Linked DNA regions of Homo sapiens: all the other regions are linked to region 4. The links are contacts of gene promoters, found by promoter capture Hi-C in blood cells and fetal thymus (Javierre and others, 2016). All regions are on one chromosome and are shown on one strand. Each heading gives the region's core, a stretch centred on a gene start or on the middle of the fragment in contact. The rest is flanking DNA. Distances are from core to core; before and after follow the strand shown.

The links. The method cuts DNA at HindIII sites, captures the fragments that hold promoters and counts their contacts. A CHiCAGO score of 5 or more calls a contact.
Region 1: a contact is called between a fragment that was not itself captured here and the fragment with the promoter of LY96 in region 4, in 13 of 17 cell types (activated CD4 T cells, monocytes, M2 macrophages and 10 more). The highest score is 17.5, in activated CD4 T cells.
Region 2: a fragment that was not itself captured here is called in contact with the fragment with the promoter of LY96 in region 4 in 6 of 17 cell types (endothelial precursors, activated CD4 T cells, M0 macrophages and 3 more); the score reaches 6.3 in endothelial precursors.
Region 3: a contact is called between a fragment that was not itself captured here and the fragment with the promoter of LY96 in region 4, in 1 of 17 cell types (activated CD4 T cells). The highest score is 5.9, in activated CD4 T cells.
Region 5: a contact is called between a fragment that was not itself captured here and the fragment with the promoter of LY96 in region 4, in 7 of 17 cell types (activated CD4 T cells, non-activated CD4 T cells, endothelial precursors and 4 more). The highest score is 9.2, in activated CD4 T cells.
Region 6: a contact is called between a fragment that was not itself captured here and the fragment with the promoter of LY96 in region 4, in 2 of 17 cell types (fetal thymus and M1 macrophages). The highest score is 6.2, in fetal thymus.

Annotation. Positions count from the first base shown.
Region 1 is chr8:73,669,085-73,673,376 of GRCh38, reverse strand. It overlaps STAU2 (staufen double-stranded RNA binding protein 2), which reads left to right. Exons shown (of 15, transcript NM_001164380.2): 6 at 135-270. Among named protein-coding and RNA genes, the nearest start is that of STAU2, 76 kb to the left of the region's middle. RefSeq lists a silencer at 2,051-2,240. The HindIII fragment of the contact is 4,982 bases long and covers 1-4,292 here.
Region 2 is chr8:73,686,405-73,691,360 of GRCh38, reverse strand. STAU2 (staufen double-stranded RNA binding protein 2) reads left to right here. Exons shown (of 15, transcript NM_001164380.2): 5 at 2,548-2,707. Among named protein-coding and RNA genes, the nearest start is that of STAU2, 58 kb to the left of the region's middle. The HindIII fragment of the contact is 296 bases long and covers 2,345-2,640 here.
Region 3 is chr8:73,651,517-73,656,053 of GRCh38, reverse strand. All of the region lies in intron 6 of STAU2 (staufen double-stranded RNA binding protein 2), which reads left to right. It also overlaps the pseudogene VENTXP6. Among named protein-coding and RNA genes, the nearest start is that of STAU2, 93 kb to the left of the region's middle. The HindIII fragment of the contact is 9,482 bases long and covers 1-4,537 here.
Region 4 is chr8:73,989,197-73,993,987 of GRCh38, reverse strand. LY96 (lymphocyte antigen 96) reads right to left here and starts at 2,596. Exons shown (of 5, transcript NM_015364.5): 1 at 2,434-2,596. The coding sequence starts at 2,545. RefSeq lists enhancers at 1,815-1,884, 2,255-2,354. The HindIII fragment of the contact is 3,298 bases long and covers 2,566-4,791 here.
Region 5 is chr8:73,710,208-73,714,753 of GRCh38, reverse strand. The region is part of intron 3 of STAU2 (staufen double-stranded RNA binding protein 2); the gene reads left to right. Among named protein-coding and RNA genes, the nearest start is that of STAU2, 34 kb to the left of the region's middle. The HindIII fragment of the contact is 1,753 bases long and covers 1,156-2,908 here.
Region 6 is chr8:74,328,243-74,333,050 of GRCh38, reverse strand. No RefSeq gene overlaps it. Among named protein-coding and RNA genes, the nearest start is that of JPH1, 9.1 kb to the right of the region's middle. The HindIII fragment of the contact is 160 bases long and covers 1,417-1,576 here.

The sequences.
Region 1 (4,292 bases), core at 1,040-3,539, 320 kb after region 4:
CTTAGAAAATCATACAGGTGGTCCATCCATTCTTACCTTCTTCCATGGTATTTAAGCGTTGTATAAATATAGCTTGCATGTTTAATTGTGAAGATATTTCACTTGTGTGCCTTTAATGTTTTTTTTTTAAACAGGCAGTATAACTCCAACTGTGGAACTGAATGGGCTTGCTATGAAAAGGGGAGAGCCTGCCATCTACAGGCCATTAGATCCAAAGCCATTCCCAAATTATAGAGCTAATTACAACTTTCGGGGCATGTACAATCAGAGGTTTGTATGTCTTTTTTGGTTTTGTTCTTAATTATTATTTTATCCATGTTATAAAAGTTTCTCACACTCAAAAGAGTATTTTCATTGTAAATCTAATTGACCTTGGGCATTGTGCATGGAATTTAGATAAAGCAGGTTCACAAGGAATATTTAAATTAATAACTTAAAGAAACCCAGTTTTCAGGAACTAGTTTTTTTTTTTTTTCCCCTACCCCACAAACGTAAAAGATCTGAAGGAACTAGTTTTTATTGTGTCATGAGGGCCCTGTATTTGTTGCAGGGAAGACCAAGTCTTAAAGTCATTTCACAGTTTATAGTGTTGACTTTCTCATTCATTTACCAAGCAGAGCTCAGTTTTTTTCTTGATTTGTCTAAATACATTAGTGAACATGAATGTTTGTAATTTATAGGGAAAAAAGAAAAAATGTAAATAATGTAATCCCAGAATTTGCCACCTTTTATATTTTCATGTACTTTACATTCTTTTTTTCTTTGCATTTAAATATATTTAACCAAGTTGAAGTTGTCCTTTATATGCAGTTTTTGTAGTACTTTATGAAGGTATGATAGACATACAGTAAAATGTACAAATCTTAAGTATACCTCTTGATGACTTTATTTTATGTATGTATATATGTATTTATACTTTATTTGATGACTTTTTACATACGTATAGCCTCACGTGATCACCACTCAGATCGAGATACAGAATGTTCCCAATCACCTCTGAGAGTTTCCTCAGACCTCTTTGTCTTTGACACATCCTTCTCCCAGAAATAATCACTATTTTATTATCATAGACTAGTTTTTGCCTGTTGTTGAACTTTTTATATCTAGACTCATACAGTATTTATGTGCATCTGGCTTCTTTTACTTTGTATAATGATTTTCTTGTTTGGGGATTCATCCATGTTGCTTATATCTGGGTTTTGCCCTTTTTTATTGCTGGTTAGTGTACTTTGTATGGATATATCATAATTTGTGTATCTTGTATATGCAAAACAAGCACTCTCTTTTCACTTAATATAGTGGCCATTTGTCATATATTTAAGAATTTTTTTTTCTTTTCTTTCTTTTTTTTTGAGACGCAGTCTCACTCTGTCACCCAGGCTGGAGTACAGTGGTGTGATCTTGTCTCACTGCACCCACAGCCTCCCGGGTTCAAGTGATTCTTGTGTGTCAGCCTCCTGAGTAGCTGGGATTACAGGCACCTGCCACCATGCCTGGCTAATTTTTGTATTTTAGTAGAGATGGGGTTTCACTATGTTGGCCAGGCTGGGGGTCTTGAACTTCTGACCTTAAGTGATCTGTCCGCCTCGGCCTCCCAAAGTGCTGGGATTACAGGCGTTAGCCCCTGTGCCTGGCACAAAATGATTTTGATGGCTACATAATGCTTCATATGGCTTCATAAGGTATATAAATGTATGTCTATTTTTTTATCTAGGTTGTTTATGCCCTCTTTTTTGTTAAGATTGCTGCAGTAAATAATCACTATGTAAATCTTTGTTCACATCACTGATTATTTCCTTCCTTATATTACTATAAGGGGAATATTCTTTAAAAAGAATAAAGCATTGCCCAATTGCACTAAAGTTTGTACTAATTTCTTACAGTATATGAGAATGCTTATTCTATTCTGAGAACACTGAGTTAAAAAGGTTTTTGTCTTCTTTGGTAGTTAAAAAGTAGTGTTTTTTTTGTTTTTTTTTGTTTGTTTGTTTGTTTTTTAGATGAAGTCTCACTCTGTCACCCAGGTTGGAGTGCCATGGTGTGGTCTCAGCTCACTGCACCCTCCGCCTCCTGGGTTCAAGCGATTTCCGGCTAATTTTTGTATTTTTAGTAGAAACAGGGTTTTACCATGTTAGCAAGGCTGATCTCAAACTCCTGACCTCAAGTTATCCGCCTCTCTCAGCCTCTCAAAGTGTTAGGATTGCAGACATGAGCCACCTCACGTGGCCATCAAGTAGTAGTTTTTAAAATTCAATTTTATTGATTACTAGTGAGGCTGAACAGTTTTTTTTTTAGATATTTGTTATCCTTTTTGATTTGTCTATTTTAATTTGCTGATTTTTATTCCATTGCTTCACCAGTTTTCAAATGTTTATGTGTTGAGGATGTTAACCTTCAGTCTATTTTGTTTGTTGTAATTTTCCTGCTTTAAAAAATTTGGCTTTTAATTGTGTATTTGTTTTTAATATCCTGTAGTTTTAAAATTTTATGTGGTCTTATCTATTGATTTTTCTTTATTTCTCTCACTTCTTTTATGCCTGAGAAATTCTTTCCTATATTTGATCAGATATTTGCTGGTGCTTTTGTTATGGTTTTATGTATTTACTGATACCATAACTTAGATGTGTAGGGAAGATATTTATTTAGTCCATAAATAATCTGATACTTTTTGGTTTCTTGCTTGCTAGGGGAAAAATTATCTTTAATTGTATCCATTTAAAACTTAGTTCTATTCAATTGTAAATAGTTCCTTTAAATATTATTGTTTAGGTTCTCTAAGAAGAATTTGCACACTGTATTAGACTTCTGCCCTTCCCTTTTCCTCTCAGGTATGCCTGGGGGAGCTTTCTCTATGCTAGGAAGGGAGAGGCATCTATATACCTCACCTCTGTAGAGGCATCTTGTGTTGTCCTTTAGTTCCTCTTTTCTTTGTGGTCGTGTGCCTTGTCCACGAGGTGTGGAAACTTGCAGTTGGTGGCATCTAGTCCGTCTTTTTCTCCCTTAGGTAATGCTTCCAGAGTGTATCTACTATCTTCCCCTTGCTAATGGGCCTAAACCCTCAGCTTTTCTTGGCTTCCTTGGTATATTTCATTCTCTCCTGTAACATCTCTGCTTCTAATTGTGATGCATACAATGGCAGGCTTCCCAGCCCTCAGCTTGGTGTCCACACCGCATAGGAGGCACAAGGGACAACACATTTCTCTTGTAGTTGTTTTATTTTCTCTTTCTCTGTATAATATACGCATTGCCTTTATGTTTAATCTGACGTTCCCCAATGTAAATAAATAAAGCTAGTTGCCCACTTCAACACAGTAGATATCTTTAGTCACCTGAGTAAGGAACACCTAGCCTATTATATACTAATTTTATTGCTAATGTACTCTAGTAAATAGATTTATGAGAGTATTACATCTTTATATTTGTTTTATTTTGGTATCTGTGGTCCTTTATTGAAATTTTGCTACAGTTCTGACTAGTGAATTTATTACTTTTAAATGGAAATAAACTACTTTTATTACTTCTAAATTTATTACTTTTAAAAAGTCTGGTGCTAAAGCAATGAAAAGTCAGACACTAATCCCTGTCCTTATGGAGCTCATGTTCTTGTAGGGGAGGTAGTCAGTCAATAAGAAGTGGTTAGTCACTGAGAAGGTTGCTTTTGATAAAGACCTCAAAGGAAGAGAGAGAAAAAGCAGTGTGAATGTTGAGAGAGAGAGAGAGAGAGAGAGAGAGAGAGAGAATTCCAGGCTCAAGAAATAGCAAGTACTCCCCGCAGTAGAAGTGTGCCTGGCATTGGCCTCAAGAGGCCAATGTGGCTTGATCAGAGTGAACCAAGGGAGAGAGGAGTTAGTATGTGAAATTAGACAGGGATCATGTGATTTTGATTTTCTTTTTTTCTTTTCTAAATTTTCTGTTAAGAATGTCGGCATTTTTTCTTTGTTGGCAGTTTCTAGTTCCAAGATCTAATTCTTATGGTTGTTGTGAGGGGTACAATAATTTTATTTATGATTTCTCCAAAGTCATAAATAAAGGATGTGCCTTAGGCCATTCCATGAATAGATAATATGGACTTTTCCTTTTTTGGAGTGTCTTTATTTTATGATATTCTGCAGATCACAAAAAGGTAAAAAGAATATCGGAAAGTACTAGTAAGCTACCAAGCCATGTTTCAACTGAAAAGCTCTTTCTGCTCACAGAAGCGCAGACCTAACCATTACTCAGTAGGCTGTTACAACCATGATTTCTCATATTTATTTTAATTTATAGATGGCAACACTTGAATGGATTACAGG
Region 2 (4,956 bases), core at 1,243-3,742, 300 kb after region 4:
TACAACGAAGAGTTATGAGATGTTAAATAAGCCTTAGGAAGGCAAGGATAAACGAAACTAATGAGGTTTGAACCTGAACTATTGGGAGATAATGGATTAAACATTTTGGGGTATGAACTGATTTGGAGGGGGTAGAGTGGAGGAGGCAGTGTTTTGTTTGACCTTTTACCTCTTGAGTTTGTGGAAATACCAAGTAGACAGTTAGATTTATGTGATTGTTGTTTAGGAGAGGTCAGGTCTGGAGACATGCAGAGTAAATTTAATATGCTTTCCTGATGCAATCAGGAATCTCAAGGTCATTTATGTGGGTATTTCTGTTTTCAAGCATATGAGCTATATGCAAGATTATGTATATTATATATATCATGTGAAACCTTTGAACTTTCTTACTTTGTGGCAAAGTTCTTTGTTAAATACCAAAATTTGAAGAAAAAGAGCTAGTCATTGAAAAATCATTCTGAAACCAGAGAGAGTATTAAAGATACATTTTAGGTATATATTTTAAACTGAATTAGAATAAAAGAAAATTTAATCACTTTAAACAGGTATGTTTATGTTGTGAATTTCAAATGACAAATCCCAATTCTCTATTTTGATTAATTAAAAATCTACAGAAAAAATGGAAAGAGTGGTGTAATAGACACTCATGTATGGTTTAGATTCACCGATCGTTAATTTATTTGCCACATTACTTTATTTCTTGCTCCCTCTATATTGACATATAATTTTTCCTTGAACAATTTGAAAGTAAATTTCAGCTACCATGACACTTCACTCTTAAATACTTACATATCTATCTTGTAAGACTAAAGACGTTCTTCATAATCACAATACTGTTAATCACACAAGAAATTTAATCCTGGCTAAACCTATTACTTAATGTATAGTTCATAGTCACATTTCCCCAGTTGTCCTCTGAATGTCCTTTACAGCTTTTTTCCCCTTCCCATTTTAGATATAATGAAGGATCATGCATGGTATTTATCATGTCTTTTCATGTCTCTTTTCTTTTCCTTTTTTTTTTTTTTTTTTGAGACAGAGTCTCGCTCTGTCACCCAGGCTGGAGTGCAGTGGCGCAATCTCGGCTCACTGCAAGCTCCGCTTCCTGGGTTCATGCCATTCTCCTGCCTCAGCCTCCCGAGTAGCTGGGACTACAGGCACCCGCCACCACGTCTGGCTAAATTTTTTGTATTTTTAGTAGGGATGGGGATTCACTGTGTTAGCCAGGATGGTCTCAATCTCCTGACCTTGTGATCCGCCCATCTCAGCCTCCCAAAGTGCTGGGATTACAGGCGTGAGCCACTGTGCACGGCCTTCATGTCTCTTTAGTGTCCTCCCTGCATTCTTTGTTTTTTTTTTCCTTTTATGACATTGACATTTTTGGAGCCTAGGCCATTTGTTTTATAGAATGTCCCATAATCTAGATCTCTCTGGTTGTTTCCCTGTGATTAGATTCAGATTAAACATTTTTGGCCAAGAATTGTACATGGTTGTTGATATATACTTCTCACTGGATTGTATCAGGGGGCACATGACGTCAATTTGTATGATTATTGGTGATGCTAACTTAGTGAAGGTATTTTCTATCTGATCTCCTTTCTACAATAATATATATTTTTTTGTAATAAGTAATTTTAAGTTAATACTTAGTATTCCTAGAAAGTAATATGCAGTCTGGAGTGAAACCAATTATGCGCATATCATGTAACTTGATTCTGAATTTTAAAGGTGAAGAATAGGTTTGGGGGCTCATATGGAAATACAGTGAGAATGGAATTCAGAGCATGTTAGTGGAAGGATGTGTGTGAGATGAGGATGCACAGGTAGAGCCTTTGTGCCATGCTAAAACAGGAACAGTTGAAGGGTTTTAACCTGATGTTGATTGGGGTGATGAAGTTGGATTTGTGTTTTAGAAAGATAGTTTTAGCAGTGATCAGCTGGAAGAATATTATGTCCAAGCTAAAGATGATGAAAGGCTGGATCCAGTTGGCAGAGAGAGGAAGAAGATTTGAGAAATATTTATGATGTTAAAATGGACAGAATTTAGTGATTGGCTCAATGTTTGTTGTGGAGATTCAGAGTTTTTTGGTAGTATAATATTTAATAGAATTGCCTGACTCATTGCCTAGATTGTGCTAAATGTAACATTCAAGGAATTAGATTTTATGAAAGTATTATAGACACATGGTCTTTTGGCTTCTCTTACAGTTTCTCTTATTATTTCTACTTATTCTGCTTTTGTGAGGACCATTTGAATGACATTAACATTGTGATTCCATTTAGAGGAAAGATTGCTTCTTGATTTATTCTACCCAGAATGTACACCTAGATCTGCTACTAAGCTTTTGGATAGGATAGAACAGAATTTGGTACTCTCTTAAAATTTCTTCACTAGGTAGAGTAAGATTTTGTTGCAGATGATCTGTAGGTAAGGTCACCTCTAGCTCTAAAATTCTGATTCTATGATGTTTATTTTTCTCTCAGACAGCCAATTTTATTTCTTGGAAAAGTCTTAATGTTTTCTTTGTCTATTTATGTTTTTCTAAGATGTTCTCAGTGCAGCTGAGTCTTGGTGAGCAGACATGGGAATCCGAAGGCAGCAGTATAAAGAAGGCTCAGCAGGCTGTTGCCAATAAAGCTTTGACTGAATCTACGCTTCCCAAACCAGTTCAGAAGCCACCCAAAAGTAATGTTAACAATAACCCAGGTATGGCAGTGACTCCTTCTGTTATGTTGTCTGCTATGTGTGTTCTGCTTGTTGTATGTTTCATTTATAGTAGGCTAGTAACAGAGTGAGCAAGTATTAATAGTACACATATGCCCATACCTACACACACACACACACACACACACACACACACACACACACACGGTAGCATAAAAATAACTGAAGGAGGCTTGGTGCGTTGGCTCACGCCTGTAATCCCAGCACTTTGGGAGGCCGAGGCGGGTGGATCATGTTAGGTAATTAGTTCGAGACCATCCTGGCCAACATGGTGAAACCCTGTCTCTACTAAAAATATAAAAAATTAGCCAGGTGCCTATAATCCCAGCTACCCAGGAGGCTGAGGCGGGAGAATTGCTTGAATCTGGGAGATGGAGGTTGCAGTGAGCCAAGATCGCGCCATTGCACTCCAGCCTGGGCAACAAGAGCGAAACTCCATCTCAAAAAAAAAAAAAAAATGAAGGTGAGAGGATGAAGAAAGTAATTGTAATTGTTTTTAAAATTTGCTTTAGTGGATACTATAAAAGTGCATTGTTTACTTTTTTAATGTTGGCAAAAACATATTTGAATACAAAGCACAGAAAATTTGACTGAGTTTTTTTTTTTTAAAGTAAAGATAGTAGGCCGGGCGCGGTGGCTCACGCCTGTCATCCCAGCACTTTGGGAGGCCGAGGCAGGTGGATCACGAGGTCAGGAGATTGAGACCATCCTGGCTAACACAGTGAAACCCTGTCTCTACTAAAAAAATACAAAAAAATTAGCTGGACATGGTGGCGGGTGCCTGTAGTCCCAGCTACTCAGGAGGCCGAGGCAGGAGAATGGCGTGAACCCGGGAGGCAGAGGTTGCAGTGAGCCAAGATCGTGCCACTGCACTCCAGCCTGGGCGACAGAGCGAGACTCTGTCTCAAAAAACAAACAAACAAAAATGATAGTGGCTTGGTGCAGTGGCTCCCACCTGTAATCCTAGCACTTTGGGAGGCCTGGGTAAGAGGATTGCTTGAACCCAAGAATTTGAGAGCAGCCTGGGCAATATAGCAAGACCTTGTTTCTACCCCTGCAAAAAAAAAATTACAAAAAATGATTAATTTCTCTTTTTAAATATATAGTTTAAATATATAGTTATATATATAAAAAACTATATTTTATATATTATATAATTATATATATTTTATTTTATATATTATATATTTATATATTATAAATATATATTTATATTTAAATTAATTTAAATATAAATATATTATTTTTATAAATATAAATTATAAATTATATTTATATTATATAAATTATAAATATAAATTATATTTATAAATATAAATATAAATTATATTTATAAATATAAATATAAATTTTTATAAATGTAAATTAATAGAAATATAAATTAATTTATATTTAAATTAATTTATATTTAAGTTTATATTTAAATTAAAAAATTTATAATATATTGTATATATTATATAATTATACATAATTATATAAATATAATTTATATAAATTTATATAATATATAAAACTATATATTTATATATAGCCTGGCCAGCATGGTGAAACCCCGTCTCTACTAAAAATACAAAAATTGGCTGGGCATGGTGGCGCGTGCCTGTAGTCCCCACTACTTAGGAGGTTGAGGCAGGAGAATTGCTTGAACCTGGCAGGCGGAGGTTTCAGTGAGCCGAGATCACGCCACTACACTCCAGCCTGGGCGACAGAGCAAGACTCTGTCTCAAAAGAAAAAAAAAAAAGAAAGAAACCCCATCACAAATTCCGCAAACCACCTGCATGTAAAATACTGCTAAGTAAATTACTGTTCTAATTTTAAGCTCCTAAGAATAATTTTAAAGAGTTGTTCTAATTGCATACAATACGAACAACATTATATGTCATTATCTTTTTTTTTTTATTTCAATAGTTTTTGGGGAACAGGTGGTATTCGGTTACATTGATAAATTCTTCCGTGATGATTTCTGAGATTTTGTTGCACCCATCACCCATGCAGTGTATGCTGTACCCAATGTGTAGTCTTTACCCCTCATTCCCCTCCCAACCTTCTCCCAGATCCCCAAAATCCATTGTTTTTTTTTTTTTTTGAGGGGGAGTCTCGCTCTGTCACCAGGCTGGAGTGCAGTGGTGCAATCTCGGCTCACTGTAACCTCTGCCTCCCGGGTTCAAGCAATTCTTCTCCCTCAGCCTCCCAAGTAGCTGGGACTACAGGCATGTGCCACCACGCCTGA
Region 3 (4,537 bases), core at 413-2,912, 340 kb after region 4:
CCCAGCACTTCGGGAGACTGAGGCGGGCGGATCACAAGGTCAGGAGATTGAGACCATCCTGGCTAACACGGTGAAACCCCATCTCTACTAAAAATACAAAAAAATTAGCCCAGCGCAGTGGCTCATGCCTGTAATCCCAGCACTTTGGGAGGCCGAGGCGGGCGAATCACGAGGTCAGGAGATTGAGACTATCCTGGCTAACACGGTGAAACCCTGTCTCTACTAAAAATACAAAAAATTAGCCGGGTGTGGTGGCAGGCACCTGTAGTCCCAGCTACTCGGGAGGCTGAGGCAGGAGAATGGCGTGAACCCAGGAGGTGGAGCTTGCAGTGAGCCGAGATCGCGCCACTGCACTCCAGCCTGGGCGACAGAGCAAGACTCTGTCTCCAAAAAAAAAAAAAAAAAAAAAAAAAAGATGTATTAAAATTATAATATTTGTTTCATTATCTGCTAATAATTTCAATAATGGCTCATTGCACAAAATATTTTCTAACTTACATGGAAGTACAAACTCCTATAATTTTAATTAATATATCTATTTTTGTTGCATAGAATTATGGTAGAATGAGGAATAAAAGACTTTTAGTTATAAAATATGAAATTAGGATGAAATGGAGAGAGTGCAGTAAAATGCAAGTTAAACAAGATACAGCTGGTGTAAAATTTCTGTTGTATTTAACAGAATTTATGTATTTTTTGAGTAGATAAAGGTGGATGTCAGCTTGCTATGATAGTTCAGTTTTTGGATACACTTAAAAGAGTGACATAATTTTATTTTAAAATGTAAATATTTACAGTAAATTAGAAACTACATCCTTTGCAAGTACTTAATGAAATTTTAAAAATGTGAATTAAAACTTTAGCTGTAAGAAGAAATATGCAAGAATATGTGTAACTTTCTAAAATGTTTTTGTAGGGTACAAGCATTCAAGTTTGAACACTACTGCCATAGATTTATTTGAAAAAGAAGCTAAGTTAGAGATGGCTATTGCAGAATGCAGAAGAGGTGTACATTTTTATCCTGATTTACACATGCATAGGCAAATGTGGTGGTTTAAGAAATGGTTTGGGCCGGGCGCGGTGGCTCACGCCTGTAATCCCATCACTTTGGGAGGCCGAGACGGGCAGATCACGAGGTCAGGAGATCGAGACCATCCTGGCTAACACGGTGAAACCCCGTCTCTACTAAAAATACAAAAATTAGCCGGGCATGGTGGCGCGCGCCTGTAGTCCCAGCTACACAGGAGGCTGAGGCAGGAGAATGGCGTGAACCCGGGAGGCGGAGCTTGCAGTGAGTCGAGATCGTGCCACTGCACTCCAGCCTGGGCGACAGAGCGAAACTCCGTCTCAAAAAAAAAAAAAAAAAAAAAGGTTTGATAATTAAAAGAGTTCTTTTTTTTTTTTTTTTTTTTTTTTGAGACAATCTTGTTCTGTCATCTAGGCTGGAGTACAGTGGCATGATCACGGCTCAGTGCAGCCATGACCTTCTGGTCTCAAGTGATCCTTCCACCTCAGTCTCTCTAGTAGTTGGGACACCATGATGTCTGGCTAATTTTTTATTTTTTGTAGAGATGGGGTCTCACTATGTTGCTCAGGCTGGTCTCAAACTCCTGGGCTCAAACAATCCTCCCGCCTTGGCCTCCCAAAGTGTTGGGATTACAGGGGTCAGCCAGTGTGCCTGGACAGTTAAAAGGGTCTTGAGCTTGAACATAGCAGTCATAGTTAAGTTTTTGGGCTCAGTTATACCAAAAATTGAAATCTTATTTTTCTTTTCTGGTATATAATGTAATCCTCCCATTTATAAAATAATAAAATTGTATTTATCACCTTACTACTATGTATAGGTAAAAATATTTATCTTGAACCATTAGAGGGCAGCACGGTTTTATCTTTGAAATTAGCTTTCACAACATGTAAATGCTTTTGAGTCACAGGCTTAATATAAGCATGATTAAAATAAACTATGAAATTTTAAGTTAAAATTAAAATATTTCATTTGGAATTTTTGTAATATAAAAAATGTGGTAGCAAGATAAAAGTAAGTCATCCTTTTATTTTTTCCCTCCCCTTCCCTCTTCCTAACCACATTAGAACTTTTACAAAGTTTGAAAAGCTATACAACTTGATTCTAAACTTAATATTTACCTTGATTTTCAGATGAAGAGTTACCTAAGTCAGTGTTATAAGATGTTCCATGGTAAAAGGGATTTGAAGACAAATTTTGGAAATGCTGCATACTGTATCTCTCTTGAAGACTCCTAAAGGTGTCATGAAGAAAACTGTTTACCTAAGTGGTTCCTAACACTGACTGAACATCAGGCTTTCCTGGGCAGCTTTAAAAATTCTGATGCCCAGACTTTATGTGGACTAATTAAATCAGAATTTCTGGTTGCAGAGCTTGAACCGCACTGTTTTTTAAAACTTCCCCAAGTAATTCTATGTCCAGTCATTTAAATACTGGTCCCCACAACCCAAAACACATTACCCTCTATTAACATCAAAGATTATGAGATGGTTTGAATAGTCATAGAACTTTTGAAAGAAGTAAAGAAGAAGGGAAGAATTACAGTTAACCACACTCCTTAAGGATAATTGTTCTGGACAGCTAGCTTCCCCACATTGCTGAGGGTTCACTTTTTTTTGGAACCTAAAACTTTACTTAGTTCAGTAATTTTGGATAGAAATATTTCTAAAAGTTATGGCATATATTTTTTATATCCTTAAATAGAAAATGCCACAATTCTTAGCATGAAGAATCCTTGCTGTTGACTCATTATCAACCTTATAAACAATAAGTATTACAAGCCTCATGAGATATGTACATGGTTTGTCCTTATACCAGATAATCCTAGACATCTGTTTCTAGAGTACCCAAGTGTGCTTTTAGTTACTTTCCAAATCATTGTTGTCAGTCAGATTGTCATCTTATTTCTTGTTTTTGTCAGTGCACCTTTGCATATTGCTTGCTCCTTTCTTTGATGCTTTTCAATTGCTATTATCTTGAAAACCGATATTATTGTTTGAATTTGGGGCAAAGTAAGAGTAGCAGGGCTTTAATTACGCCCTAAGATGTCCCCTTAACTGTGGAAAACATCGAGTTTTATCTAGTTGGTGAATTTTTTTACTTCAGAATTTATTTTTTTCTGTCATAAATTTTGCTAAGGATCTGCATTTTGAGTAGAATGAAGTGGCCAGATAGTTGAATAATGGTTTGGTGAATATCTATATGTATATATGTATGTGTATGTGTGTTACACATACATATTTAATGACATGAAGTACTTTGGTTGCTTGGAATTGGACAGAAATAACAGTTTTTTTTTTTTTTTGGGACAGAGTCTTGCTCTGTCACCTAGGCTGGAGTGCAATGGCGCGATCTCTGCTCACTGCAACTTCCACCTCCCAGGTTCAAGTGATTCTCCTGCCGCAGCCTCCCGAGTAGCTGGGATTGCAGGCGCCTGCCAGCATGCCCGCCAGCACGCCTGGCTAATTTTTTTTTTTGTATTTTTAGTAGAGATGGGGTTTCACTATGTTGGCCAGGCTGGTCTTGGAACTCCTGATCTCGTGATCTGTGTGCCTTGGCCTCCCAAAGTGCTGGGATTACAGGCGTGAGCCACCGCGCCTGGCCAGAAATAACAGTTTTAATAAATTTCATGAAATCACTTTCTTGTATGTTAAAGGAAACAGAAAGGGTTCATTTGTGCATGGTTTAGTCTTTCTTTTGAATGTGGAAGTTTTTCTTCTTATTTGTGTGTCTAAAAAAATTAAAAAGTGAAACATTTTCCAAAATGAGAAGATTTGCTAGTAAGTAATGCATACTTCTATGAAATTATCTGCCTGAGTTTGATAATTTTATTTATATAATTTCTTTTTTTTCCCCCTTCCAATCCTTCATGGTTTTCTTTTTTACACACAAAGCCTACAACCTTTACTTTTTCCAACTGGAAAACCAGTTTTTCCAACACTTTTTAAAAAACAAATTACCCTTTTATCATATGCTGAAAGCCCTCCCTATAACAAGCCCACTTCTGCGTTTGACTCTACACTGACCCTTCATTTACTTCCTAAACCAACCCTTTTGGTAACTTTTGGTGAAGAGGTGGCTTTAATAAATATATTCTCCAGAAATCTCCAGAACCTTTGCGTGGGTCAGGGTGAGAGGTGCCTCCACAATGTAAACAGAACAGCTGAGTTCTCTGGGTAGGTGCCAGGTGCAATCTGCACAGACCTGTATGGGAGGCCTGGAGTCAGAGGCATTTCCTCAAAATGCATCCCGTCTCCGGCAGAGCACACCAGGCCCCAGGGCCCCGTGGACAGGGCTGGTCCCAGCGTATGCATGCCACTTCCTGGGCTTTGGGGGGTGGTACGCCAGAGGCTGCCCACAGCAGCAGGCCCACTCAGAGGCCAGGGCCTCTTGTTCCACTTGCAGAGACCCCAGAAGGAGCCAGGGGACAGCATCAGAGTCTGGGGCCCAGGCAGGGGTGCCCAAGGGCACAGCAGGTGCAGGCCATTGGCAAGGCCAGAAGACGGTGAGTGG
Region 4 (4,791 bases), core at 1,347-3,846:
TAGAAAGTCAAATCAAAAGATACACCAACGGTGATGGTTTCACAGCAATGTGCATATACTTAATACAATTGAGCTAAACACTCAAAAATGATTAAAATGTGAAATTTTAGGCCAGGTGCAGTGGCTCATATCTGTAATCCCAGCACTTTGGGAGGCCAAGGTGGGAGAATCACTTGAGCCCAGGAGTTCCAGACCAGCCTGGGCAATATAGCAAGACTCCATCTCTACAAAAAAATTAATAATTAGGCCAGCTGCGGTGGCTCACGCCTGTAATCCCAACACTTTGGGAGGCCAAGGTGGGCGGATCACCTGAGGTCAGGAGTTGGAGGCCAGCCTGGTCAACATGGCAAAACCCTGTCTCTACTAAAAATACAAAAATTAGCTGGGTGTGGTGGTGGGCACCTATAATCCCAGCTACTCGGGAGGCTGAGGCAGGAGAATCACTTGAACCCAGGAGGCGGTCGTTGCAGTGAGCCAAGATCATGCCATTGCACTCCAGCCTGGGCAACAAGAGTGAAACTCAAAAAAAATTATTTAATTAATAATTAGACAAGTGTGGTGGCATGTGCCTGTAGTCCCAGCTACTTGGAAGGCTGAGCTGGGAGGATGGCTTGAGCCAGGGAGGTGGAGGTTGCAGTGAGTGGAGATCATGCCACTCACTCCAGCCTGCACAACAGAGCAAAACCCTGTCTCAAAAATAAATGATAAAATAAGATAAAATGTGAAATGTTTTAAAAAGACAAATTGAGTTATTGTTAAGAAAAGATTGAAAGCTAAATAATAATACAAAATGTTACATCCATAAAAACCATATAAAGAGTGGCATAAACCGGGCAAGGTGGCACACGCCTGTAATCCCAGCACTTTGGGAGGCCGGGGTGGGCAGATCACAAGATCAGGACATTGAGACCATCCTGGTCAACATGATGAAACCCTGTCTCTACTAAAATACAAAAAAAAAAAAAATTAGCCGGGTGTGGTGGCGCACACCTGTAGTCCCAGCTACTCAGGAGGCTGAGGCATGGGAATCGTTTGAACTTGGGAGGCAGAGGTTGCAGTGAGCCGAAATCGCGCCACTGCACTCCAGCCTGGCAACAGAGCAAAACTCTGTCACACACACACACACACACACACACACACACACACACACAGTGGCATAATTAGCACATGGTACAAAAGAGCCAAAGGAGGAGAGGGAAGTGGGGGCCAAGTAGAGTAGGAGCCTTGCTGGAAGAGGGGAATGCAAAAGGATCTTGCAGCATGGAGAGATTTTAGACATACGTTTGGAGGGAATTCAGTGCAACCCACCAGGAGAAGGGCCATGGTGTGTGACTGGCCACACTCCTAAGTCTCCTCCTCACATGTGGCAATTATCCCAATTTCCCGAAAGTCACTTTATATTAGCATTTGGCAGAGCATGTTTCTCAAGAGAGTTAACATACACTCCAGACTAAAACACAAACAAACAAACAACAAATGAAATTGAAAATGTGGTTAAACAGGTGCCTTTATTGCAGAACTTCTCAGAACCCAAAGTACATCTGTAAATCTCTCCCAGATGATTAGGTCATAGATCCTATTTTCCCAAAAGAATCTCAAAGAACTGGTATTTTGGGAAGCACCACTTTAAACCTCCCAGCTATTGCTAGTGGGTGGAAAAGGGCAGCCAACCCATGGTAAGCAGCACGGTGGAAAGTACCGAACCAAAACAGCTGTCAGGCCTGACACTGTGCCTTCAGATCCCAGGACACTTGCTAATGAGCAGCTGGGGCAGGGGACAGTGACACAGCCAGTGAATAGTATTAGGGTATGGCTGACTCCAAAAAAAAATTAAGAGTATTATTGTCTCTATGTGACCCTATGCTAAAAAACTTCACCTCACAACACCCTTATCAAGTAGACTATAAAATCACTTTCACTTCAGTGCTAAAAAGGCTGGAGTACTTTGCTTAAGGTCACACAGCTAGTGACAGAACCAGGCTTTCATCCAGTGAGGGGGATGATTCCAAGAGCACTCAAGAGTCACAGCTTAGAGCAGAAATCAACTCCAGGAAGCAGCTGGGACTGCTCTACCATCTCAAGAAGAAGAACTAGTAAGTGTCAAGGCTGAGGTGAAAGCTCAGAAGCAGATGGTTTTATTAAAAATGGGCAGAACCAAAAACTGGGCTCAGGGTAGAGAAAGATGACGCAGGGAACAGAAGCACTTGGAGGTCAAGCACAACACAGTTTAGAGACTCACAAGCTCTGTGAGTGGTCGAGAACATTCTCATGGGGCAGCTGCCAGCTATTGCTTTTCCTGCTGGCAGCGTCCGCCACAGCAGCTGGAACACACTGATGTTTCGTGTGTTCCAGCCACAACAGTGTACGGTTCTCGTGAAAACTTACCCTCAAAATAGTTGATGCTACAATTATTTGTTTTGCGGTTTTACTTACCACAGTAGGTGTATGAAATACTTGCATCGGATGAGTTGCAGACCCAATACTGCTTCTGAGCTTCAGTAAATATGGAAGAAAACAGGGTGGAAAAAAACAGAAATGGTAACATGATTCAATATCTCCAAAGCTTTACAAATGCAAAGAGGATCAGTAACTAATCATCAGACTCTTCCTTTTCAGTAAGCAGAAAAGATTTAACTTAGTCATCAGTCACATGATTTCTGAGTTCCTATCCAACTGTTTCCTCTTTTTTTGTGTGTGTGTGCTCAACATTTGAGCACTTCCTGTAAAGGAAGAGAGAAAAATGATTTAGAATGTACTCTTCAAACACTTACTGTAAATGAGAGTGATCAAAGACTTAAAAATAAAACAAGACACTTTGGCCAGGCACGGTGGCTCATGCCTGTAATCTCAGTATTTTGGGAGGCTGAGGCAGGTGGATCACTTGAGGTCAGGAGTTCAAGACCAGCCTGGCTGACATGATGAAACACATCTCTACTAAAAATACAAAAATTAGCCAGGTGTGGTAGTGCATGCCTGTAATCCCAGCTATTCAGGAGGCTGAGGCAGGAGCTTCACTTTATCTGGGAGGCAGAGGTTGCAGTGAGCCAAGATGGCACCACTGCTCTCCAGCCTGGGCAACAGAGCAAGACTCCATTTCAAAAAAATTTTTTAAATGAAAAATAAAATAAAATAAACAAGACAATTCCCAGTCAACTGTAACAAAACCAGTCCCTAGGTCCCCCTGAAAGTCTCAACAGACAGGCACTCCTTTTCCCTCTGCATTATTCTTCTCTCCTACAGCTCTGTATAACAGCAGTCCCCAACATTTTTGGCCTCAGGGATCAGTTTCATGGAAGACAATTTTTCCACGGACTGAGGGGATGGGGAGGGATGGTTTCAGGGTGAAACTGTTCCACCTCAGAACATCAGGCATTAGATTCTTATAGGGAGCACGCAACCTAGATCCCTCGCTTGTATACTTCATAACAAGGTTCCTGCTCCCATGGGAATCTAATGCTGCTGCTGGTCTGACAGGAGCTGGAGCTCAGGTGGTAATGCTCGCTCACCTGCTGTTAACCTCCAGCTGTGCAGCCCACTTCCTAACAAGCCACAACCAGATTCCTAACAGGCCATGGACTGGTACTGGTCCACGGCCCCCAGAGGATGGGGCCTCCTGCTTTATAAAACAAATTCTCAGCTGGGCACGGTGGCTCATGCCTGTCATCCCAGCATTTTGGGATACCAAGGTGGGTGGATCACTTGAGGTCAGGAGTTCAAGACCAGCCTGGCCAACATGGTGAAATTCCGTCTCTACTAAAAATATAAAAATTAGCCAGGCATGGTGGCACACACCTGTAATCCCAGCTACTCGGGAGGCTGAGGCAGGAGAATCGCTTGAACCCAGGAGGCAGAGGTTGCAGTGAGCCAAGATTGGGCCACTACACTCCAGCCTGGGCAACAGAGTGAGACTCGGTCTCAAAAACAAACAAACAGGCCAGGCGCAGTGGCTCACCTCTGTAAATCCCAGCACTTTGGGAGGTCAAGGTGGGCGGATCACCTGAGGTCAGGAGTTTGAAACCAGCTTGACCGACATAGTGAAACCCTGTCTCTACTAAAAATACAAAAATTAGCTAGGCATGGTGGCAAGTGCCTGTAGTCCCAGCTACTCAGGAGGCTGAGGCAAGAGAATTGCTTGAACCGAGGAGGTGGAGTTTGCAGTGAGCCAAGATTATGTCACTGCACTCCAGCCTGGGAGACAGAGCGAGACTCCATCTCAAAAAACAACAATAACAACAACAAATCAAATTATCATGGCCCAGAGAGCTGCACCTATAGATCTGAAGTAAACAGTCTCATGGAAACTATTTCTTTTCAGCAGCAGGTTTAGTTACAGGACAGAACAGGGCCAGATAAGACCCCAAACAGGGGACACTAGCTGTAATTCTGTGCTGTGGGCAGGGACTCCACCAGTCTTAATAATGTATTCACCTACAACAAGCTAGAGCTCAAGAGAACATTTTGAGTCCTAATAATGAAATGTCATCCTTTTGTTATGACATGTATTTCATTTCAAAACTCTCACTCCATTTTAGAAAGACAGCTATTCCTTTAGATATCTTGCTACTTGAAATCCTTTACAGGATATAGCTTAGGGTTAGCAGCCAAAAATGGCATGGAGTTTTGGCCTAAAAATCTGCACACTTAAGAAGAAAATAATCATACGTTGGTAAAAATATTTTACAACAGAAGTGTGATTTTTTCCATTTTTTTAGAGATAAAGTCTCACTGTGTTGCCCATGCTGGGGTGCAATGGCTATTCTTAGGTGTGATTATAACACACTGCAGCCTCAA
Region 5 (4,546 bases), core at 783-3,282, 280 kb after region 4:
CAAAATGGCTTAGACTTTAGTGTCATATGTGGTATGTTTTGCTTTAGAGAAGTTTTATTATTTTTATGTTGTTAACTATCAGTTTTTGCCTTTATGGCTTCTAGGTTCCTTTTCATATCTAGGAAGGCCTTCTGTGTTACAGGAGTATGACAGATATTTAGCTAATTTCCGTTAGTTTTTGTGAAATTTTTGTATTTTGCATTTTAATATTTCTGAAATTTATCTTTGTGTTTATGTGAGAGAGGAACTTAAATTTTTTCCTAATGGACAGACTGTTAAAAATGGAGCAGTTTGATGCCTGGGTAGTTTGTCGATAATTTTGCTTGGACAGCCTTATGTTAGGGTCTAATTTGAAAATAGAGGGTTTGTTTTAGTTAATAGCTGGGGACATATCTGTCAGATTGCTCCTAGAAGGCAAGAGCCCATGAAAGGGTCCTTTGCTCTTTTGACTTTTTTCTTTCTTATTTTACTTGGGAATTAGGATGAGTTCCCTCCAATAGCAGAGAATAGAGAAAGGGGAACCAGTAAAGAGACATAGAAACTGTGTTTAAGGCCGGGCGTGGTGGCTCACGCCTGTAATCCCACCACTTCGGGAGGCTGAGGTGGGCGGATCACCTGAGGTCGGGAGTTCGAGACCAGCGTGACCAATATGGAGAAACCCCGTCTCTACTAAAAAAACAAAATTAGCTGGGCGTGGTGGTGCATGCCTGTAATTCCAGCTACTCGGGAGGCTGAGGCAGGAGAATCACCTGAATCCAGGAGGTGGAGGTTGCAGTGAGCCGAGATCGCGCCCTTGCACTACAGCCTGGGCAACAAGAGTGAAACTCTGTCTCAAAAAAAAAAGGAAAGAAACCGTGTTTAAGTCATTTCTGGGACCAAGGATGGAAAGGATTCTTTGGAATGATTTGCCTTGCGAAGCGAGGTAGTCTGTGACCTTAGTAGCAACAGTTCTGGCTGGAATATAGCTACTTTAAAAAATGCTACTTTAAGTTCTGGTTTAGGAAACTTTTGGTGTTCTAGTGAATTCTGGTCACATAGTTTTATTCTGCTGTTTTTTCTCATGCGTTCTGTATTCTGCCAGTTTTCTGCTTGCATTTGCCAGAAAGTTATGTTGTTTTATGTGCTTTCTCCTGTGTCTATACTCCTTGAAAAGCTTGGACTGTCTCTCACGTTCCCTTGTTACCTAAGTGAATTTTTGCTTTCCTTATCTAATCACCACCTCTTAAAACTTGCCTTTCCATACACCCTTTGTCTAAGGAGTTTTTGTAACAGCCTTATTATAGTACTTATATTGTGATTTATTGTGTTTGTCTATTGTCTGTGTCTGTTTCTTCTATCAGACTGTGAACTCCTTTGGGGACAGATCATTTTGCCTGTGAGCTACATTATTTTGTAGCTTGTTCAGTGACTTGAACACAGTTGCTGTGTTTCTTCACTGGTTCCTACACATACAAATGAACAGGCAAAATGAAGATTCAAATTCCAGAGTCCAGGACATTTTGTGAAGACATAAAAATAGAGTGAATCTAAAAATAGAGTATATTTATGTTTTTGTTGGATATGCAAATACTGTTATTATAAATATGTATTTTACCAGTGTTTCTTATCAAAGTTGTAAGTTATATCTAACCAAGTTTCGTATCAGTGAAGGTAGAATATTTCCTAGCACATGTAAACCTTTAATATAATTTATATCATATTTGAGAATTTTTCAGTGGAAACGAACTTATGGGTTTATAAGTCAGTGGAAAAAATAATAACAAATACATGCTTTTCACAGACTACTACAGAAATATACTTGTTTTTTGTTTTGTTTTGTTTTGAGAGAGGATCTCACTCTGTCACCCAGGCTGGATTGCAGTCTGGAACTCCTGGGCTCAAGCAATCCTTCTATCTCAGCCTTCTGAGTGTCAAGGAGTACAGGCATGTGCCATGACATATGGCTAATATTTTTATTTTTTTGTAGAGATGAGGTCTCGCTATGTTGTCCAGGCTGTTCTCAAACCCCTGGCCTTAAGCGATCCTCCCGCCTCTGCCTCCCAATGTACTGGGATTACAGATGTGAGCCACTATGCCCAGCCAAGAAGTATATTTGTATGAGTAAAATCAATTTATCGTAACAGAATATTTTGGCTAAGAATATTTTTACTTAGTTTTATAAACTTTTTTCATGACTTTTTATGTCACTGTTTTAATATTTGATGATAGTGTAATTGTTTTAACAAATGTTTAAATCAGAATAATAATGAATTTTTAATCATTGTTAACAGTGTTTGGTATTATCTCATTCAATCCATGCAATTATCTAGTGAGATAAGAACAACTATTATCTCTATTTTACTTTGTGGGAAAGTGAGATTTAAGTACTTTCTCAAGGTCACACAGATATTAGTAAGTGACAGAGATATCCAAAACAGGCTCTTAACCATCATGTGGCAGTTGTTCTTTCAAAGTGGCAGAGTCTGAGATTGTGAATCCATTTTTATTAATTTTATTTACTTCTAAGTAGGTCTCTACTATTCCAGCCACCAAATGGACTTGAAGACTATTTCAAACTATCTTCAGTGATAACATCTATAGGTCTTTGAAAATGCATACCTGTGTAACATTATGTGCATTTCTCACTTTTTTGCACTATTGACTTCTCTAAAAAAGATTTATATAACTTTTTTATGTGTCTCAGATTTTATAGACCAGTTTGTTTTTATAGATGCTCTATCTAAATTTTGGTGTAATTTAAAAGTTATTGCTGTATTACTGAGCTCTCTGTCAAGTAAGAATCCTATTAAGATTTCTCATTAAATAAAGGAACAACTATTTGTTTTAATCCCTTTTTAAAATAAAACAACTATGACTAATTATTTCCTAAGTTATCAACTTTAAACATTTTGATTTTAATTTTGAAGCTTTATCAAAGTGGGATCTTGGACCCTTCTCACACTAAAACTTCAGTCACCCATTAAAATGTGTTATTGGATTCATGTTAACTTTTATGAAGCAGGAAGTCAGAATTAATGGAATATAAGTTTTATACCATGTTATTTGTTAACATTTTCCTTTAGAGGATTTAGATTAGGTTTTCATACCAAACGGGTTCATTATAAATGAACCATTTAAATCGCTGTTTAATATGTGTAGAACCTATGCTATTAGCAATTTTCATAGTATAAAATTTTCACACTATGTTTGTATGCTTCTAATATGTTTTGCATTGTAACAGATGAATATGCAGCATTACTGAATTATGAAAATTACACAGTGGTGGTATAAATGCTATTTGTGTTATGCAAAATTGGCTGATTTTTATCAGACTTTAATATTTTCTCATTTTAACCAATTATTCTGCTTTTGCTTTTTGATATTAAATTGGCTGTGCTGTCTGTTGCACTTGAATTCATGCAATGGTATGCAAAGGCCAAAACTGATTATCGTCTCAGGTTACCTTGTATTTTCTTATAACGACTGACTTTCCAAATTGAACAGGATGTTTTATAAAATTTGTGTGACATGCAATGGAATAGGTAAAATGCAGGTTTTCTCAAAACTGTCTTGACTTTTGTCTTTTTTGTACTTTTCCCAAAAGTAATAATTACTAGTTTTTTTTTTTTTTTTTTTTTTTTTTGCAAGCCACTTACAATGGCTTAATTGTAGAATCTACTGTCAGCTGTCTTGGCCCTACAATTGGTTGCTTAGATTCCTTCTTTTTACTTAGGTCTTACCAGGTGCTTACGTAGTTTTCTTATAAAATAGTTTCTTAATCATAATTATCACAATCAAGCCATTGTACAAATTATTGGGCCTGTTAAGAGTATTAGAAATGTAAAAGAATATTATTTTTAATATTAAACTTTGGCCTAGGAAGTTTGTAGATGAAGTTCCTAAAGCCAGCCATTTTCATTCATTTTAAGTATTCTTGTGGCTACAATTGAACTGTATTTATTGTGACTATAGTTTAAATGAGCAGGAAGTAATCCACTTGCATGTTTTATGCTTAGATTTTAAAATATATTTTGGCATTTTTTATGGGAAGTGAAAGAAAAAAGTAATTAAATGTGTCTATAAATGAGAGAAAGGAAAAATATAGGTTAAAATAATGTGGTATTAGAAAAATATTCTGAAGCTATAATAGTACCTTGTATTTGCGATATAGTTTAGAAAACCATATCATACATTTACAACTCTTAATCTCACAACAACTTTGGGACTTAAGCGGGATAGATTTATTTCTCTCATTTTATAGAAAGAATAGAAGGCTTAGTGAGTTTAAGTAAAATCATTGAGATCTTGACAGTTAGAGAGGACTTCCTAAACAAGACGTAAAAAGCACAGACCATAAAAGGAAAAGTTGGTAACTATAATACAAAAAAAAAAAAAAAAGGATAGAAGCCTGTAATTCAGCTACTTGGGAGGCTGAGTAGGGAAAATAGCTTGAACCCAGGGTTAGAGTCCAGCCTGGGCAACATAGTGAGACTGTCTCTGAACAAGAAAAAACCCAAACAAACATAAAATAGTAGTGGAGAAAAATATGCAAAGAACAATAATGGGA
Region 6 (4,808 bases), core at 247-2,746, 340 kb before region 4:
ATCCTTAGAAGACATGCTATTATATAGTACCTTTGAATTTTGGTTTTAAATTGACAAGGAGAAGGATATTCTTTATAACTATGAAAGCACTTTGAGAGCTAATTCATGTGAAAAAAAATAAAGTCATGTTGGGATCACTAGTGTTAGACAACTTTGAACTTATTTGACTAGCTTAAAGAATCTAAGGTAGTCCACAGGAGAGGATTACCCTATAACAATGTTTCCCTGAAGAGCACTCAGTGTATTTCCTGAAAACACAGATTCCTGAACCTCAATGCCAAGCCCACGGAATCAGAATTCATCTGATTCCGTGGGCTTGGCATTGGTGACCTGGGCATGTGTATACAGACAGTCCCCTACTCAGGATTTTTTTGACTTTATGATGGTGTGAAAGCAATATGCATTCAATAGAAACCATACTTCAAGTACCAACACAGTCATTCTGGTTTTCACTTTCAATACAGTATTCAATAAATTACATGAGATATTCAATACTTTATTATAAAATAGGCTTTGTGTTAGATGATTTTGTCCAACTGTAAGCTAATGTAAGTGTTCTGAGACCTTTTAAGCAGGCAAGGCTCAGTTATGATATTCAGTAGGTTAGGTGTATTAAGTACACTTTTGCCTTACAATATTTTCAATTTATGATGGGTTTATCAGGACACAATCCCATAGTATGTCAAAGAGCATCTGTATTTAATAAGTTCCCCTCGGTGACTGTCAGCAGGGGAGTTTTGGAAATCGCCCTATGATAATGATTCTCCATCAGATAAGTACATTAGGATTGTTAGGAAAGCTCTCAGAATATATAAGATGGGGCCACTCTGTCATTTTGCTAGAGGAGAGCAGAACCTACACAAGCATCTTTTGAAAATGCTCACCAAAGGATTCTCACCTTTGCTTTGATGAAGTTATCAGTCCTAAAGGAACATTTAGTATGGATCTGAGGTGTGGAAACAAGGCATGATTTAGCATAGGCTGTTACATCGAAGGAAATGATGGTGCATACTTCTTTCTAGAAATAGCAAAACTTTCAGAACAACCAATATGGCAGGGCTGACACAGCTGGAGGTTTCTAAATGTCCACTTCTGTCACAGACAGGGAGACAGTCTATGAATTATTCAATCAGTTGGTGAGTCGGAAATCACTCATACCATCTGTATTACCCAGGCAGTCTTTTCCCATTTCAGATGGTAAGTTTTGGAGGGTCCTAAAATTTATCAAGTCCATTTATTGCTTTACACAGGCTATTGCATCATCTGCCTAACGGCGGTTCTATTCAGTTACATATACAGAATGGAATTTTCAAATAACTAAAATAATAAAATGCTAAGATGCTGAAGACTGACATTTCAATTTAATTATTAATAAGTACTATAATTTCAAGTTTCAAATTGCTCTTCAGCAAAGCTTTCCTACTCTCACCCCCTTGATTTTTATTTGTATCTTTACAGGTTTTTACATATGTACAAATACAGCAAACTATAGCATACTACATACATTGTTCAATATCTTGCTTTCTTTTCTATCTAATAGATCTTGGGGATTTTCCATATCAGTACATAGAAAGCTTCCCCATTCTTTTTTAAGAACCAGGAAATCTGATTTTAAACTCAGTTTAGTAAGTTGTGATTTAGACTTTCCATCTCTCTCTGACCAAGAACCACCTGTAAATGTAAGTGTGTATGTGTGCATGTGTGTGTTAGCTGTGTGTTCTTTAAAGACCACCGTGTGTAACAGTTCAAGGTCTCCAAGAAGCAGATTCCAGGATAGAATCAGACACACATGCAGGATAAAGACCACAGGAAGCAGGAGTAGGCGGGAAACCCATGAAAGGAAAGCAGGGAAGGAAGAATTGTGTAGAAAAGGCTCAGACTGCAGTGTAGCCCTTAAAAGGTTTTAGCCAGGTCAGTGGGGAGCACAGGAAATCTCACCCATCAGAGGAGGTCTGTGTTGAGAAGGAATGACCCAGTTCCTGGAATCCCACTGTGCTTGGTTATTGGCTAGAAACAGCTTAGACAGTGTGGCCTCAGCATGAATGCTATTGGAATTCAAAGGTGCAGCAGCTACAGGATGTTCACCAACCTCTTCTCTCACAGCAAGTTCTCCTGAAGGAAGATCTGAGTGGTGCACATCTATGACCACCACAATCTCCCCTTGCACTGCAGAGATTGTCTTCACATGTATCTGGGGGCAGTTCCTGGGGGCCTTTCTTCCTGAAGGGAAGCTCTGATAAGGGAAGTTAATGGGACAAATAGCAGTCCCTGTTTCTGAAGTTAGCCTTGTGGCTAAAAATGGTTCTCATCTTCTCCCTTTTCTTTACTTCATTCTCCTCACCATCAGCTATCACATAAGTAGGTTCTAGTGGCTTACCTAGTGGTATAACCTAATCCTTCATTTCTGGAAGGTCTGAACCCCTTGTAAGTCATACCTTTCTCAGACCAGGGTTGCCACATGACTGCATCCATGGATACAAGGGATCCATAGAGTCCCAGGAAGCACCTAAGTGGATCACCTGGGTCTGCACATATTCTTTTCTGTCCCCGTTATATAAAAGCCTCCTTCTGCTCATCAAAGTCAATCATTCCTGCCAATATGGTGATTCCTCTTCTTACCTGCTGATCCCTGGGCACAATCCCTGGATCTGCCAGGCAGGAGCCATAGTTTGCAGCTCTGCTTTGTCCCCTGGCAAGAGTGCTTCCCCTCTGGGAACCCTGCAAAGTCCAGAGATGCACCGATAGGAAAGACACTGGATGTGATAATAAGTGAGGTACTATTGCTTCTACCTCTTAGTTCCTAGGCTTCTATGTCCTCCCTATTAGAGATAGTGTCATAGAGAAATCCGATTCTGTGCATATATCACACCCCAAAAAATGCCACTCCATCTTTGCAGATTATTACCAGCAAACTAGAATTATAGCTGTACCTTTAGGAGACCATTCCATTATTCTATGAGGTTAGCCCCTGAAATATTACAGAGGTAAGCAGTAATACAGTGTCTAAGACGAAGCGGACCCCACAATCAGGGCTCGTTCTGGCACCTCCTTCACGGTGAAGTGGGTCCCCTGGTTGGAGTTTATGTGTGAAATCCCACGCTTGTGAATCAGGTATTCTATAAGCCACTGGACAGTGCTGGTACAGGCTGAGGCTCTGTGGGGAGGAAAGGTAAATCCATACCCAGAACGTCTATCCTTAGTAAGGATGAACCACTGGCTCTTCTAGGCTGAAATGAGTCTAATATACTCAACTTACCACCAAGTAGGTGATTGATATTTGCAAGGAATACTCTCTGTTACTAACAGATCTGACTTACAAAGTTAGGAGTAGTTAAACCAACCTCAATAAGCAGCAGTCCCTGCTCTTGGGCCCAGGTACAACCTCCATCTCTGCCACTGAGGCAACTAAGCTCATGTGCCCCTTGCTCCAGATCTGGGATGTCTGTTGAGGAAGGCTGACATTAACTGGCTGAGTCCTGTCATCTACTTGGGTTTTCAGTGCCTCTTCCACTTTGTGTCCATTCCCATATGTTCATCCACATGTCTCTAGCCTAGACCTCCATGTTTTCAGTCTTCCAATCCTTCTCTGTCCAGCCTCTGACCAGGCAACGCTGTTAGCCACTGCTCAGAAATCTATATAAATATTCCCACCTGGGGCCACTTTCCCTTCCACACAAAATACATGACTGGTTCAACATTCACAGTTCTGCCCACTGGAAAGATTTTCCCGGTCTACAGATGTTCAAGACCACTCCTGAGTGTAGATGTAATGCAGCCTCCATTCATTTTCAGCTACATCCACATACTGAGCTCATCCAACCGTAAACCAGATAAAGGTTTTTCCTCCCCCTTCAGCTAGTTATCTGAAACCCCAATCTGCTCAGAGAAGTGAACCAGTGGAACCCAGGTGGGGGACATGAGGGTCTGTCCCACACAGCCCTCAAGAAAAGGCAACCTGTTCTTGCAGCTTTTCATGCCCTCTGGTCCCCCTCAGCTTGCTCCTGGGGATCCCAGTCCCAACTCACAATAGATTGCTTCTGGGTCTGTCAAGACTTGAGTCAAGAGGACTCAAGCTCATAATGGGAAATTCTGAATGAACAGGCACTTTTTCCCATGGTCAAGCACTCCTTTACTACCAAGGCCAAGTAACTTTCAAGTAAACTGTTTCTCAAAAGATGTAAGATTGCCTGTTGCAGATGATATAGATCCTTGCTTTAGATCCCCATAGACTTGCAACTGTGATTCTTCCACAGGGGCTTGCCATAATCTTCATATATCTTTTCTCACCACTGATACCTCCAACACCATAGGATCTGCCTGATCATATGGCCCAAGAGGCAGGGCTGCTTGCATCACAACCTGAGCCTCTAGAAAAACCCCTTCCTGGTCTGAGCCCTCTCAAAGCTGGTGGCCTCCCTTCTGTGTCACCTAGCACATAAGCTGAAGTAGTGTCTAAGTGTGTATGTGTTGCTTCCAGAACCAAAGAGTAGGCCTACCAGGTGTTCTGCTTCCTTTTTGTAGCAGAGGATGCAAGATGCATCAATTTACCCTTAACTTGGAGGGGTTGTCAGGGGCAGTGGCCTTGATGCAAAACCCACAGGAGATGTGAAGTTGTGGCAGCTGGAGTCTCTTTGCCAAGTACCCTCCAAACTGTAGGTTCTCTTGAAGGCAGATCTGAGCAGTGAGCCTCCACAGCCACTCTTTGGGTGTTCTGATGTCTCTGTAAGCTTTAAAAAGTGCTTGCCACATGAAAATGATGTAAAATGCAAGAGATGACAAAAATGCTAGAGTGGGATGAAGGAAAGGAA